5 separate regions of the Homo sapiens genome follow, and regions 2, 3, 4 and 5 are each linked to region 1. Evidence: promoter capture Hi-C in 16 types of primary human blood cells and fetal thymus (Javierre and others, 2016). All regions are on one chromosome and are shown on one strand. The core of a region is centred on a gene start or on the middle of the fragment in contact, and the rest is flanking DNA. Distances in the headings are between cores, read along the strand shown. Region 1 holds the start of TEX14 (testis expressed 14, intercellular bridge forming factor). Region 2 overlaps SKA2 (spindle and kinetochore associated complex subunit 2). Region 3 overlaps TRIM37 (tripartite motif containing 37). Region 4 has its middle 120 kb from the start of TRIM37. Region 5 overlaps PPM1E (protein phosphatase, Mg2+/Mn2+ dependent 1E).

The links. Contacts are between HindIII fragments. The CHiCAGO score rates a contact against its expected background, and 5 or more counts as called.
Region 2: a contact is called between a fragment that was not itself captured here and the fragment with the promoter of TEX14 in region 1, in 1 of 17 cell types (M1 macrophages). The highest score is 5.1, in M1 macrophages.
Region 3: a fragment that was not itself captured here is called in contact with the fragment with the promoter of TEX14 in region 1 in 3 of 17 cell types (M1 macrophages, M0 macrophages and activated CD4 T cells); the score reaches 7.7 in M1 macrophages.
Region 4: a contact is called between a fragment that was not itself captured here and the fragment with the promoter of TEX14 in region 1, in 8 of 17 cell types (endothelial precursors, megakaryocytes, monocytes and 5 more). The highest score is 7.1, in endothelial precursors.
Region 5: a fragment that was not itself captured here is called in contact with the fragment with the promoter of TEX14 in region 1 in 1 of 17 cell types (endothelial precursors); the score reaches 5.0 in endothelial precursors.

Annotation. Positions count from the first base shown.
Region 1 is chr17:58,690,551-58,693,317 of GRCh38, reverse strand. TEX14 (testis expressed 14, intercellular bridge forming factor) reads left to right here and starts at 1,273. Exons shown (of 32, transcript NM_031272.5): 1 at 1,273-1,379. It overlaps IGBP1C (IGBP1 family member C), which reads left to right and starts at 1,273. Exons shown (of 2, transcript NM_001395966.1): 1 at 1,273-1,379. RAD51C (RAD51 paralog C) reads right to left here and starts at 716. Exons shown (of 9, transcript NM_058216.3): 1 at 530-716. The coding sequence starts at 674. RefSeq lists enhancers at 359-528, 859-958. The HindIII fragment of the contact is 6,974 bases long and covers 1-2,767 here.
Region 2 is chr17:59,111,915-59,114,681 of GRCh38, reverse strand. SKA2 (spindle and kinetochore associated complex subunit 2) reads left to right here. Exons shown (of 4, transcript NM_182620.4): 4 at 2,337-2,767. The coding sequence ends at 2,405. LOC124904039 (a long non-coding RNA gene) reads right to left here. Exons shown (of 2, transcript XR_007065864.1): 2 at 1-728. Among named protein-coding and RNA genes, the nearest start is that of TRIM37, 6.4 kb to the right of the region's middle. The HindIII fragment of the contact is 1,611 bases long and covers 628-2,238 here.
Region 3 is chr17:59,033,906-59,036,672 of GRCh38, reverse strand. All of the region lies in intron 17 of TRIM37 (tripartite motif containing 37), which reads left to right. Among named protein-coding and RNA genes, the nearest start is that of TRIM37, 72 kb to the left of the region's middle. The HindIII fragment of the contact is 4,005 bases long and covers 1-2,767 here.
Region 4 is chr17:58,985,674-58,988,440 of GRCh38, reverse strand. It overlaps a transcript of TRIM37 not described here. Among named protein-coding and RNA genes, the nearest start is that of TRIM37, 120 kb to the left of the region's middle. The HindIII fragment of the contact is 3,205 bases long and covers 1-2,767 here.
Region 5 is chr17:58,969,368-58,972,134 of GRCh38, reverse strand. PPM1E (protein phosphatase, Mg2+/Mn2+ dependent 1E) reads right to left here. Exons shown (of 7, transcript NM_014906.5): 4 at 2,408-2,596; 5 at 1-3. It also overlaps a transcript of TRIM37 not described here. Among named protein-coding and RNA genes, the nearest start is that of TRIM37, 140 kb to the left of the region's middle. The HindIII fragment of the contact is 2,496 bases long and covers 87-2,582 here.

The DNA.
Region 1 (2,767 bases), core at 24-2,523:
TACGTAAGAGAATATTCTTTCTATGCTTCCTCAAGATTCCGGGGATTCTACTCTCTTTCTCATTCTTAGTGTCTCTAGTCCTACACAAAATCCTGCATTTCTGAAATTTAACCCTTACCCCTTGGATCTTGGAACAGCAAAAATTAGACAACCAATTCTGACTCCAGTATTTCCTAACCCAGTTAGCATGAAAAGTTACCTAAGCTCCCCAAGATATCAGTTCTCTCATCCATATACTGAATATAATAATCTACGTAAGCGGGTTGAGGGTTAAATGAGACAATCCTCAAAGCATTCAGCAGGCATTGCCAGAGGAAAAGCAATTAGTAAATGTTTTCACGACCACAGTTCTCCTAACCATTCAGACAACTTGTAAGTGGAGTCGAGGAGCTCTTTCACGCTGTAAACATGGACGTGGGAGGAAGCAGAATCTAACGGAGACTGGGCTGAAGGCCGAGGCGAGAGAACGAAGACTGAGGCGGCGCTGACGGCGGCCGGTGTGCCTCAGCTTGCCATCAGGAGTCGTTACCTTTGCTAAGCTCGGAGGGTTTCACCTCTAGGAGTTCCTCAGCAGTCTGGAACCCCGCAGACACCAGCTTCACCCGCACCGCTGGAGACAGCGGGAAACTCACCAAATCCCGCTGCATTTCAAAGCGGAACGTCTTCCCGCGCATCGCAGGCTCACCTGCTAACCCCGGAGCAGCCAAACTCCGCACGCCCTCGCTGGGGCGTGCGGCGTGACGTCAGACGTAAAGCGGAAGGGGCCGGCTCTGCGGCCTGGCCGCACGGGGCTCCGGGCCTTGCAGCTTTGCGCAGTCTTGTAAATTTTCACACTTATGCACCATTCCGTTTTGATTCCCCAAAATCCCATTTAGAGATTCCTCATCAAATGTACACCCTGACTGTAAAACGATGGACGGAGACCATAGGACGGAGAGCCAGGCCCAGTGGGTTCTCCACGCCACATTTCCTTGCCTCCACCGTGGCCTGTTAGGTGAAGCCTCAGAGTCATTAATAGGAATGATCTCGAGTGGGAGTAGTGAGCGTAACGGGCACACACTAGCCAGTTACCATTATTTTGGTGTGAAAAGCTCAGGGAACAATCATTAGAATTAATCTGCGTGCTCTTTGTAGAGTTGCAGTCTCTTGGCTCTTCCCGCTGACCGTCCCCCTTTTCTGACCCCCCCCCCCCGCAACGACCACATTGCTTTTCCCGCCCTCGCGAGGGATTGTGGGCCAGCCCCCAACGGCCGCTGGGAGGGATCAGTCCGCATTCCCCGCACCCACCCACGTCTTCCCGGGAGTCGTATCCCGAGCATGGAGGTTACTGAGACCGTTATTTCTTCATGGCCTGCCTAGCTTAAGCAGTAGCTGGAAAAGTAAGCAACTAATGTCCCCATTAGTGTGTCTGGGCTCCTGGGGTCCTGAGAAGGAGGGGCTGGGCTACACAAGAGCTCCTTTTGTGGTACAGACTTGGGAAGGGGTGTTCAAGCAGTGGTAGTGACCGCCTCTAAATTACAGAACTTCGGGGAGGAAGGCAAGCAGTTTAGAAGGTGGTTTATGAGTTCCTTCCTTGCCTAGGTGAGTGTAACTTATTTAGCAGGGGGTAACTTATTCCCTACCTATTGGCGATTTTTTTTTTTTTTTTTTTGAGACAGAGTCTCACTGTGTTGCCCATGATGGAGTGCAGTGGCACGATGTCGGCTCACTGCAACCTTCGCCTCCCGGGTTCAAGTGAGTCTCCTGCCTCAGCCTCTTGAGTACCTGGGATTACAGGCGCACGCCACCATGCCCGGCTAATTTTTGTATTATTATTAGAGAAGGGGTTTCACCATATTGGCCAGGCTGGTCTCGAACTCCTGACCTCGTGATCCGCCTGCCTCGGCCTCCCAAAATGCTGGGAGTACAGGCGTGAGCCACCGCGCCCGGCCCTGTTGGCAATGATTCTTAGTCTTGACTTTTCTTCCCAGCTTAGAAGAACTTTCTAAATATTGCAAATCAGAGCCCTCTACATACTTAGATCTAAAAAAGGAAACAACGTATGTTGAGCACTTTAGCAAATCCCACACATTTCAAATGGCCATAGCCATGCCAAAAGGAAGATAAGGACATGGAAGCTCAGCATATAGTTTAATATCAATTCTGATAAAAGAAAAAAAGCTGGCCGGGCGCAGTGGCTCGTGCCTGTAATCCCAGCACTTTGGGAGGTCGAGGCAGGTGGATCTCTTTGAGCTCATGAGTTTGAGACCAGCCTCGACAACATGGCGAAACACTGTCTGTACCAAAAGTACAAAAAATTAGCCGGGCATGGTGGCATGCACCGGTCGTCCCAGCTACTCAGAAGTCTGTGGTGGGAGGATCCCTTCAGCCTGGGAGTGAGCTATGATCACGCCACTGCACTCCAGCTTGGGTGATAGAGTGAAACCCTGTCTCAAACAAACAAAACACCTCAGCACAGTTTTCTTAAAGCCAAGATTCAAACCTAGCATCCTTTTTACTACCCCGAGCTATTAAGATTTTGAGTCCCTACTGGCGGGGAGAATACGAGAAGCATTTATACCCCATTTGGTAGGTCAAAGAAAGTCTTGTAGGACTGGCCAAAATGTGGTTGGCCACTCAACCCATTGCTTAACTTCTAATATGGTCTATATTTGAGCGCTCAGTGGATGCATAAATACTATCTTCAGGGAGATTTCATGCTTATGCTTATAAAGCACCCAGATTCTTGGGTGAAGAAAAAACATGGTATTACCACATTCAACAATAA
Region 2 (2,767 bases), core at 184-2,683, 420 kb before region 1:
GATGCTATTGGCCATTTTTCTTTCTCAGTATCTGTTATCCTTTCCTGCCTACCAGAATATAGACATGCAGTGCATAATGACGTTTTGGTCAACAATGGACCAAATATATATGACAGTGGTCCCAGAAGATTATAATAGCGTATTTTTACTGTACTCTTATGTTCAGATGTTTAGATATAAAAATACCATGTGTTACCACTGCCTACGGTATTCAGTACAGTAACATGCTGTACAGATTTGTAGCCCAGGAGCAGTAGGCTATACCATATAGCCTGAGTGTATATATACAATCCCTGTTTGTGTAAGTACAGTCTGTGATGTTCACACGATGAAACTGCCTAACGATGCATTTCTCAGAACGTATTCCTGTCATTAAGTGACACATGACTATACTGACTTTCTTGAGATGTGTGTTGTCCCTCATAGCGATGTGCCTGAGATGAATCTGGCCCCATCCTCAGCTCCAGGGGTGCATCTGATTGGCATAGGGAATGGACTTTATTTTTTAACTAACAGTGGTTGAGGAATGGGTTTGTAACCCAAATGACATGTGAGTAAGGATAGTCTGGAAGTAGGTTACTAGGAAGACTTTACTCACTGCTGAGAGAACCCTGAGAAGAGAAAGCTTCTTTTCTTCTTCTGGACATTGTGTAGAGTTGTGATACCTAGCACCGTTAAAGCCATTTGCTGTCAGCTTGAGGGTAAAGGCACTATCCAGGATATTAGAGCTGTGAGATGGAAAAAATGGAGTCCTTACATTGTTCAGTTGCTAAATAAGTCAGCCCAGAAGTCTTTCCTTTTTCTGAAGTTATTGTGGAATGATAATACATTTTCCTTTATCTTTTTTTTTTTTTTGAGACAGAGTTTCACTCTTGTCGCCCAGGCTGGAGTGCAATGGCGTAATCTTGGCTCACTGTAACCTCCACCTCCCGGGTTCAAGCAATTCTCCTGCCTCAACCTCCCGAGTAGCTAGGATTACAGGTGCCTGCCACCATGCCCAGCTAATTTTTTTGTATTTTTAGTAGAGATGAGGTTCCACCATGTTGGTCAGGCTGGTCTCAAACTCCTGACCTCAGGTGATCCACCCACCTCAGCCTCCTAAAGTGCTGGGATTACAGGCATGAGCCACTGTGCCCGGCCTCTTTCTTTTTTTGTGTGATTTAGTCTTGCTCTGTCACCCAGGCTGGATGGAGTTCAGTGGTGCGATCTTGGGTCACTGCAGCCTCCGCCTCCCAGGTTCGAGGGATTCTCCCAACTCAGCCTCCTGAGTAGCTGGGATTACAGGTGCATACCACCATGCCTGGCTAATTTTTGTGTTTTTTAGTAGAGATGGGGTTTCACCATGTTGGTCAGGCTGGTCTCAAACTCCTGACCTCAAGTGATCCACCCGCCTCAGCCTCCCGAAGCGCTGGGATTAGAAGGCATGAGCCACCGCGTCCGGCCTCTTTTTTCTTTTCTTAAGATGAGGTCTTGCTCTGCTGCCCAGGCTAGAGTGCAGTAGCACCATCAGGGCTGACTGCAGTCTCGACCTCCCAGGCTCAAGTGATCCTCCCACCACAGCCTCCCGAGCAGCTGGGACCACAGGTGTGCGCCACCATGCCCAGCTAAAAATTAGTGTACTAATTAGTTAAAAATTAGCTACTCGGGAGGCTGAGGTGGGAGGATTGCTTGAGATGGGAGGTTGAGGCTGCAGGGAGCCATGATTGTGCCACTGCACTCCAGCCTGGGCGACAGAGTGACCCCGTTTCAAAAATAGAAAACAAAAATTTTGGAAAAAAATTAGATGGTTGTATCTGTACTGAACATCTGTAGACTTTTTTCCTTATCATTTATTCCTTCCACAATACAGTGTAACAATTATGTACATAGCATTTACATTGTATTAGGTATATAAGTAATCTAGAGATGATTTAAAGTATACAGGAGGATATGTATAGTTTCTATGCAAATACTACGCAGTTTTATATAAGGGACTTGAGCATCTGTGGATTTTGTTATCCTGGAATCAATCTCCCACAGATACTGAGGGTTGACTGTACTTTTAGAATATGGCATCCAAACATGACTTCTTTGGTTCTGCTATAATCCTTAAATTGTTTGATTTCTTGGTCTTGTTTCTTCAACTTAATTGCAAGTTCTTTAGAAGCTCAAACATCATAGGACCTTGTATATAAATAGCCAAGTATCTGTTTTTTCCCTTGCCTTTCTAAATCTGTGATTACATACATAGTATAAGCTTAGGGAAACATTTATTGGTGTGACAATGCAGAAGTTAACTAAACTGATTTAAGTCTTTGAAAGTTTTTGAAATAAAGATTTTATCATTTATTTTCTAGCTGTCACCACTGACTAAAGAAGAGAAAACTGCGGCAGAGCAATTCAAATTTCACATGCCAGATTTATGAAGAAATGGACTTGGAAAGGAAATTCTAACAGAGAAGAGCTTAATTCCGGAGAAATTTAGGAAGATGTCTTGTTAACCCTTGATGTCTAGAGATTGGGGGCTGGTGAAGGGGGTTTGGCTTCAATGACTGGATAATGATATCTTTCATGAGAGAGATTATAAGAAGAAGGGCAGATAATATATGAATAAAGTTCAGCCAAAAGGATCAAATGAGAATAAAACGATTTAAATATATGTACACACGCATGCACACACACACTTAGTCTTGTAATTTCAGGCCAGAAATTCTCAACACTATTTTGCATCTGTTTTCTTTTTCTAAGTCATGATAATATAGATGTTCTGGTCTATCATAAAAGAATG
Region 3 (2,767 bases), core at 161-2,660, 340 kb before region 1:
AAATAAGGAGATAGCTTGAAACAAGAAATATTTATTGACTCAACTGGCTGTAGTCCTGGCTACTTGGGAGACTGTGGCCGTAGGATCACTTGAGCCTAGGAGTTCGAGGGTACAGTGAGCCATGATTCTGCCACCGTACTCCAGCCTGGGTGACAGAGCAAGACCCTGTCTCTTAAAACACACGCGTGCACACACACACACACACACACACACACACACACACACCCCCAGCAAATACAAACTAGATTTTTCCTACTCACTGGATTCAATGAGCCAATAATCTGGATTAGAATGATACTTAAAACCTTTTTAGCACAAATTTTTTTTAACATAAATTGTCTTTCATTTAACTTCAAATAACTGAATAAACTAAAAGCAGTTCTCATAAGAAGACGTCTGCAGATGCTACCACGCCCAACTAATTTTTTATAGAGACGGAGTCTTGCTCTCTTGCCCTGGCTGGTCTCCAACTCCTGGCCTCAATTAGTCCTCCTGCCTCAGCCTCCCAAAGTGTTGGGATTATAGGCGTGAGCTATTGCACCTGGACCACAGATGTTAGAAGAATGAATGAGCATAATTTTTAAATGAAAATCCAGCACTGATCATTACAAGATTTTGTGATGGTAAATATCGGTATGTAATTTGTAACAAAGTGAAGGATGTGAAAATGTAGAATATTCTGGAAAGGTAGTTTGAGACTAGACTATAATAGGGCCTTGAGTGTCATGATAATGCATACAGGCAGTATGCTGTAATGAACTCAAGTATATAAGTGTGACATTTTAGCAAGATCCATATGGCTTGGCACAAATGGAGAAGAACCTGTCACCGATCCGTCTGTCTTTTTATGAGGTTTTTTTTCTATGTGAACTTCAGAAGCATGGTTTTTGTTGTTTTTTTGTTTTTTTGGTTTTTTGTTTTTTTGTTTTTTTGAATCTCGCTCTGTTGCCCAAGCTGGAATGCAGTGGCACGATCTCAGCTCACTGCAACCTCTGCCTCCTGGGTTCAAGCAATTCTGCCTCAGCCTCCCGAGTAGCTGGGATTACAGGTGCCCTCCACCACGGCCAGCTAATTTTTGTATTTTTAGTAGAGACGGTTTCACCATTGTGGCCAGGCTGGTCTTGAACTCCTGACCTCGTAATCCACCTGCCTCGGCCTCTGAAAGTGCTGGGATTACAGGCGTGAACCACCGCGCCTGGCTGTATAGCTTTATTCTTAATAGCCAAAAGCTAGAAGCAACCCAAATTGTTTTCCAATAGAATAAAGAAATAAATTGGATATATTCATAAATGGATGCTGCACAATAATAATGAAAATGAGGCAGTGGCTCATGTCTCTAATCCCAGCACTTTGGGAGGCTGAGGCATGTGGATCACTTGAGGCCAGGAGTTCAAGACCAGCCTGGCCAACATGGCGAAACCTCATTTCTACTGAAAGTAGAAAAAATTAGCTTGGTGCAATGGCGCACGCTTGTAACCCCAGCTACTCGGGAGGCTGAGGCACAAGAATCATTTGAAACTGGGAGGTGGAAGTTGCGGTGAGCCAAGATTGTGCCACTGTACTCCAGCCTGGGTGACAAAGCAAGACTTTGTCTCAAAGAAAAAAAGAAAAATATTTAAAAAGAAAATGAATAAGATACTTCTATATACAGCCATATAGATGAATCTCATGAATAATGTTGACCAAAGAAGAAGAGCATAAGAGCATACTCTGTTACTACTTTTATACAAATACAAAACAGGCAAAACCCATCTGTAATTTAAGTTAGGATGAAGGTTATTTTTGTAGAGTAGGAGTAGTGAGCAATTTTAGGAGGCATAGGAGGGGGTTCTGGGGTACTGATAATATATTTCTTCATCTGGGTGTGATCACTTTGTGAGCATTCATTGGGATGTACATTTATATATGAGACACACAGAATAGCTTGGAAAGAGAGAAACTGAAATCAGTGCCAACCCAAAGTCTTTGATGCCTGTGGGGAAATGTGATAGTGGGTAGAAAGGTGGGAACATAGGCCGGGCACCATGGCTCCTGCCTGTAATCCCAGCACTTTCGGAGGCTGAGGCGGGCCAATCACCTGAGGTCGGGAGTTCTAAGGCCAGCCTAACCAACATGGAGAAACCCCGTCTCTACTAAAAATACAAAATTAGCCAGGCATGGTGCTGCATGCCTGTAATCCCAGCTACTAGGGAGGCTGAGGCAGGAGAATTGCTTGAACCTGGGAGGCAAGACTCCGTCTCAAAAAAACAAAAAAGAAAAGAAAGCTGGGAACATTTGAAAGGGGAGTAGCCAAAGGTCATACCCACATTAAAAAAAAAAGCAGTTTTTGTTCAGTAGTGAGAATAATGGCCTGAAAAAGCAGTGAGAAACAGGAGACACCGCTTTCTCTACTGTAAGTGCCTTTAACATGGAAGAATGAGCAACTTACATTTTTAAAGGAGAATCAGATATTAGGGCAATAGATTCCATTCACTGGGCTACTGGACTTAACTATACATAAGAACGATCTGAGTAGCTTTTTGGGAAAAAGTCCTGGATCTCACCTCCGTATCCTTTTTTTTTTTTTGAGATGGAGTCTCACTCTGTCAACCAGACTAGAGTGCAGTGGTGTGATCTTGGCTCACTGTAACCTCTGCCTCCCAGGTTCAAGCAATTCTCCTGCCTCAGCCTCCCGAGTAGCTGGGATTACAGGTGCCTGCCACCACACCTGGCTATTCTTTTGTATTTTGGTTTCACCATGTTGGCAAGGCTGGTCTCTAACTCTTGA
Region 4 (2,767 bases), core at 74-2,573, 300 kb before region 1:
CCAGTGTCCAGACGGCAACAGTATTTGTGCTCCTTTTCCCTCATAGGGTGCTTTTGTTCTGTGAGATGAGAGAAAGGGTATGGTAAGTTCCTTTACCCATGCCCAAGGCCGCTGTATACTCCCCTGGGTGTGTGTCACAGCCGACACTTCTTAGGGCTCTTTACAGTATTTTCTGAGCCCCTGGTAGAGATTGTAAAGAAAAAGCCTGCAAGATAGGGCGACTCCCCTAGTTTCTGCAGGCCCCCGGGTCTTAACACTCCTGCAGCCCATATTCTGCCTTCACCAATCATCACTTTTAGCTAGCCTATTCTTTCCAGTGTCTGTTTACAACGACCCTACGAAACTAGTGCTAATGTCTTCTCTCCCCTTGCAGGCAACTGCCCCTCTCCATTTGGTGCCACTTGGTTACTCTGCAACCTCAGCTTTCCAATGGATTCGAAAAAATGTCCTAATTTATAGTTCATCTGGCTCGTTTGCATTGTAAGAGTAGAAGAAATGCTCCTTCTACCCCTACATCCCGGAGTGGAAGCTGGAAGTGCTGTGATTTAAAAATGTATATATGTAAAACACACATTTTATTGAATGTAAAACATGAGTGTAATTAATCCTAAAACCAGAATTCAGAAAATGAGCCATTTTTAATTTTTTTATCTAGTTTTTTAAATGTTTGAATTATAAAGGTGATAAGATTAGAAAAATTTGGGAAATAGAAAACCCCAAGAGCTATTTTCTTTTTTGCATATTCATTTGAATTTTTATGTGGTAATATTTTTAGATTTCTCCTCATTCTACCTCTCATTCTCACATCTACCAATACATGCCTTCATAGTCTAGATTTATAGAAGTTTTAGAACTCTGCTTAGGGATGCTTAAGAGCAAATGGTAAGATTAGCCACAGTGTAGTTTGGGACATCAGTAGTACGGGCTGCTCTCTTTCTAAAATCCTTTTCTCTGGCTGGCATGTTGACCGGGAGTCTCCCTTCCATTCCTGCTCTGCAGACCCTGCGGGCCAGAGTCCTTGCCCGAGACCTTCAGGTCAGTCAGTGTCTCCTGGTGTGCATTTGGGAAAGGCTGCTGCATAGGCTCACCTCCCACTGGGTTTCATTTGACCTAGTGAACCCGTAGCAACTCGATTTGGCTTAATTGGCCACCCCTAATCCTGTAGCTGTCATACTACTCAATGTAATGACTAGCAGGGACAACTTTTTCATCATCTTTAGTTAAACTCCAGTTACTCATTTGGAAAATGGTTTCCCCAAATGTGTATCATTCTTGACAGTTTTTCACATTTGTTTCCCTGGTCCTAAAGCAAGATTATAAAAATCAAATAGAACCTGTGTGTGAGGGCCCTTGTTTGCACAATGAGGAGAGGACACACTTCATCTGGAGGTTGCGTGACTGGGGCAGCATCCTACAGCTCAGCATAAGAGGCAGGCTCAACCAACTGCCCAGGGAAGAGCGCTTCTTACTAAACATATTCAACAGTTGGGGCTCTCAGAAAAGAATGTGACTTGTTTTAAATGTAAGTAAGGGATCTTCCATAAGGTTATTCCTAGGCCAAGCAAAAGGAGGTTCCCTAAAGCACAATAGAAAAAGTGTTCTTTACTAATTGCTGTTAAGATGACAGATGGGGCTGGGCGTGGTGTCTCACACCTGTAAATCCCAGCACTTGGGGAGGCCAAGGCAGGCAGATCACTTGAGGTCAGGTGTTCAAGACCAGTCTGGCCAACATGGCAAAACCCCGTCTCTACTAAAAACACAAAAGCCAGGCGTGGTGGCCGACGCCTGTAATCCCAGCATCCTGGGAGGCTGAGGCACAAGAATTGCTTGAACCTGGGAGGCAGAGGTTGCAGTGAGCCGAGATTGCACCACTGCACTCCAGCCAGGGTGACACAGCAGGACTCTTGTCTCAAAAAAGAAAAAAAAAAAAAAAAAAGACAGATGGAAACTTGCAATCAAAAAGAAAATGATGCACTTAGGGAGGCCGAGGTGGGAGGGTGGATCATCTGAGGTCAGGAGTTCGAGACCAGCCTGGCCAACATGGTGAAACCCCACCTCCACTAATAATAATAAAATGAGCTGGGTGTGGTGGCGGGCGCCTGTAATCCCAGCTACTTGGGAGATTGAGGCAGGAAAATCGCTTGAACCTGGGAGGCAGAGGTTGTGGTGAGCCAAGATCACGTCACTGCACTCCGGCCTGGGTGACAGAATGAAACTCCATCTCAAAAGAAGGAAAGGAAATGATGCACACTGACAGCAACAGGGGGCGGGTGTGGGGGGGAATGCTCAGTTATGCAGCTTGTCAGTACAGACAGTTGTTTCTGATAATTTGGTAACTTGGGTAAATTTCTATGATGTTCAAATGATTTTACTGTACCTAGTGGTTCCCTTCTGTCTTGCTGTGTGCTGCTCCTTCAGAAAGAGGTGTTCCTTTTGATCTAAGTAATACTATATTTTAGGGAATTTTTTCAAGTGTAACACTTACTAATCAAAATGTTCCTTTTCTGTCATTCCCTGCTTCAGTAAACCCCTTCAAATATGTCCTTCTTTCAAAACTTCACCTTTTTTTTCTCAATTGTTCATTTGGTTCTATATAAAGTCATGCCAAGGACTGAATGAATTTAGGGAATTAGGAGTTGAAGATTTTTGAAACTATGTAAAATTAATTGTAAAGGCCTTCTTTACTGGTAGGCAGGAGAACAGTGCAGTGTATTGACAAGGTTGACTCGTTTGGAAGGTCAGTTCCCTCCCTTCAGATGCAGGTGTC
Region 5 (2,767 bases), core at 85-2,584, 280 kb before region 1:
GCTCTGAAAACAGTTTAAATAAAACTAGACTCAGTGAAAAGAAATAGATACTACATTCTTATTGAGAAGCAATTTATAATTAAGCTTTTCAGCTGGGAGCTATACTATTAATAATGGAATTTCACACATATATAATAATTCATTGTCTCAATGCATTTGTATATGCATGTATGTATTTATGTGTATATACACACATAAGTCCACCTGATCTGTGATATGCAGGGCGAGGATGATTATTAATTCCACTTTAAATATAGATAAGAAAACTATGGCAGGTTATGTGACTTGCCCAAGGGCAGGTAACTATTAGTATATAAGACAGAATTGAAATTCTTTTTCCTCCCAGTCAAGCACTAAATCCTCTATACCAATCCTCAGAGTAAAAATTTCTATATTCTGCTCTCCATTTCATTACTGACATCGTATTTGTTCAGTGGGAGAGTCCTAGCTGTATAAAATGATATATAAAACATCTGATTGGTACACAACAGATGCTCTAATCTCTGGAAATTAAGCTAAGGGGCCAAGAGACAGCTTACGTTCCCTGGAGTACTAAGATGCTTATACCTTTAAAAAAATATCCTTCCTACAGTATTTTTAGGGGTCTTTGCTTTTGGAACATTGCATAAAGAACTAACAGCCTGGAATTTCACTGCAGTAGCTACGACTGTACTTAAAGCTCTTGGTCCTACTATACGAAAATGACATCCCCATTTGACATGAGTCACCACCAAATGAGCATGACTTTCTGTTACTAAGGACCTGGCCTAAATTAGAACCAATGCGTCAGGGGTGGTAAAAGGTCTCTTGTATCCAATGAGAAAAACAACTTCTCGTTTTCCCTATATAGGGAAAGTTTGTTATAAATCCTCACCCACCAATAAAATGTCTTCCCACACAGAATGTTCAAAAACTCAGCCCCCTAGAACACATGATAAACACACTTCAGTGCATATGCCCTGGAGAGAACAGGAGGCAGGGCTGCTTCATAACAGGAATAGCTGTTTTCTTCCCAGCAGTTAGCAGCACATGGAAGCATAAGAAGGAGAAAAGGGGCGCTGAGACAAACCTAAATTATTCAGAACTATTGGCAGAACTGAGAGACACCAGGGTCACTGACAAAACAAATGAGGTAAACATGGTCAGAAAACAACAACAACAACAACAACACATAATTTTGAGAAGACAGAGGAAAAAAAGAATAGAATAGAGGATGAAGAAGACAGAGTGAATCTCTTTGTTTCACATTGATGATTACGGGTCACCTCTCAGGGGCCGGCCCTTGTCCTCGACTCAGATGATAAAAGCCCACAGCTTCAAGAGAGGCAGAGCCAAGCAGAATGCAGGTCCTCAAGAGACTGGAGCTCTGAGGTCAAGAGTGGCTTTATTCTCCAGACCCACCTCTTTGTGTGGACTCTACTGGTTACTGTTGGATTTGCATATTAATCCAAACTTAGGGGAGGGGAGAGATGAAGAATAATTCTCTTTCTTAATACCAAATAGGTCTGAGTTATTGTTTCATTAATTCTAAGCCCCATTATTGCTTGTAGCATAACTATGCTATCAAAAAATGGATTAAATGATTACCCTGATCTCTCCAAGCCCATTTTAAAAAGAGTTAATGTTTAAGTCACAGGGCAGGAGTCTTATTTTTTGTCTGTATCTACTTCTGTAATTATTTTTAAAAATTAAAAATTCTTTTATTCGTCCCCAGTTAAAAATCCAATATAGAACACTGTAGTTAATTATGTACCAATACCCAGAACGATAATTAGATTAATTTTTTTACTTTTAGACCTTAATATAGAGCCCTTGCCATTTATTCAAAGTAAAAAAAACTTAGGTCTGATTAACCTTCGCAATGTAGGACATGAGCTCTTCTTTTCTCCCTATTAAGAGAAAAATCAGCTCAAGGATCATTTAAGGATTCACCCTCTCCAAGCGAATTTTCCCTCAAGAGATACACAGCAAAACACTGCCTACCCATTTAGAACCAAATGTATGGAAGTAATCCCAGTTTCTGTTTCTTTTTTAGACCATTGTTTTATTCACCATATCCAGATCTTGTCAGCAAGAGTCTGCTTAGAGAGATGGTCCTGGTGTGAACCTGACAGGCAATGGTGAATAAAAGAAAGATGAAACTCACCTGCCAAATCCAGCAGTTATTACAGAAATGAATCCAGAAAATTACAGCTTGAGATTTTCTATACAGTACCTCATTGTACCCCCTGAAACTCTTCCTGAGGAGGGAATTGGAACTACAACAGAATCCAATACTGTGAGTCAAGAATACAGTTTGGATAATGTCTGCCCAGAAAGAGAAAATCTAAATAGCCCTTTAACCACACAGACCAAATTGAGCTCAGCTAGTACATTTCTAGCTGGAACTTATGAGAAAGGGGCATACCTCCCTGGCTGCTTTCTGCACAAACCGCTCATCAGTGACCCGGAAGGCCCTGCACAGGGCCTCAGCAGGATCATGGGGGAACATCTCCTGGCGGACTAAGTTAACGTGGAGGTGAATGGAGGCATAAATAGCAGCATCTACTCCCCCATGGCCATCAAACACTGCAAAGTAAGCTTGTTCTTCCTGGTCCTGTCAACAGAAACACAGAACAGTTATGGGAGTTGGGTATAGCATGATTCAAATGAACCAATCTCCTGGCATCATTGTTGCCCATCCTTTCTCCTCCACTGCATTTGTCATTCAGAATAATGAGACTAAATGTTTTCCTTCTCTAACATGCCTGATCAACTGCTGAAATAC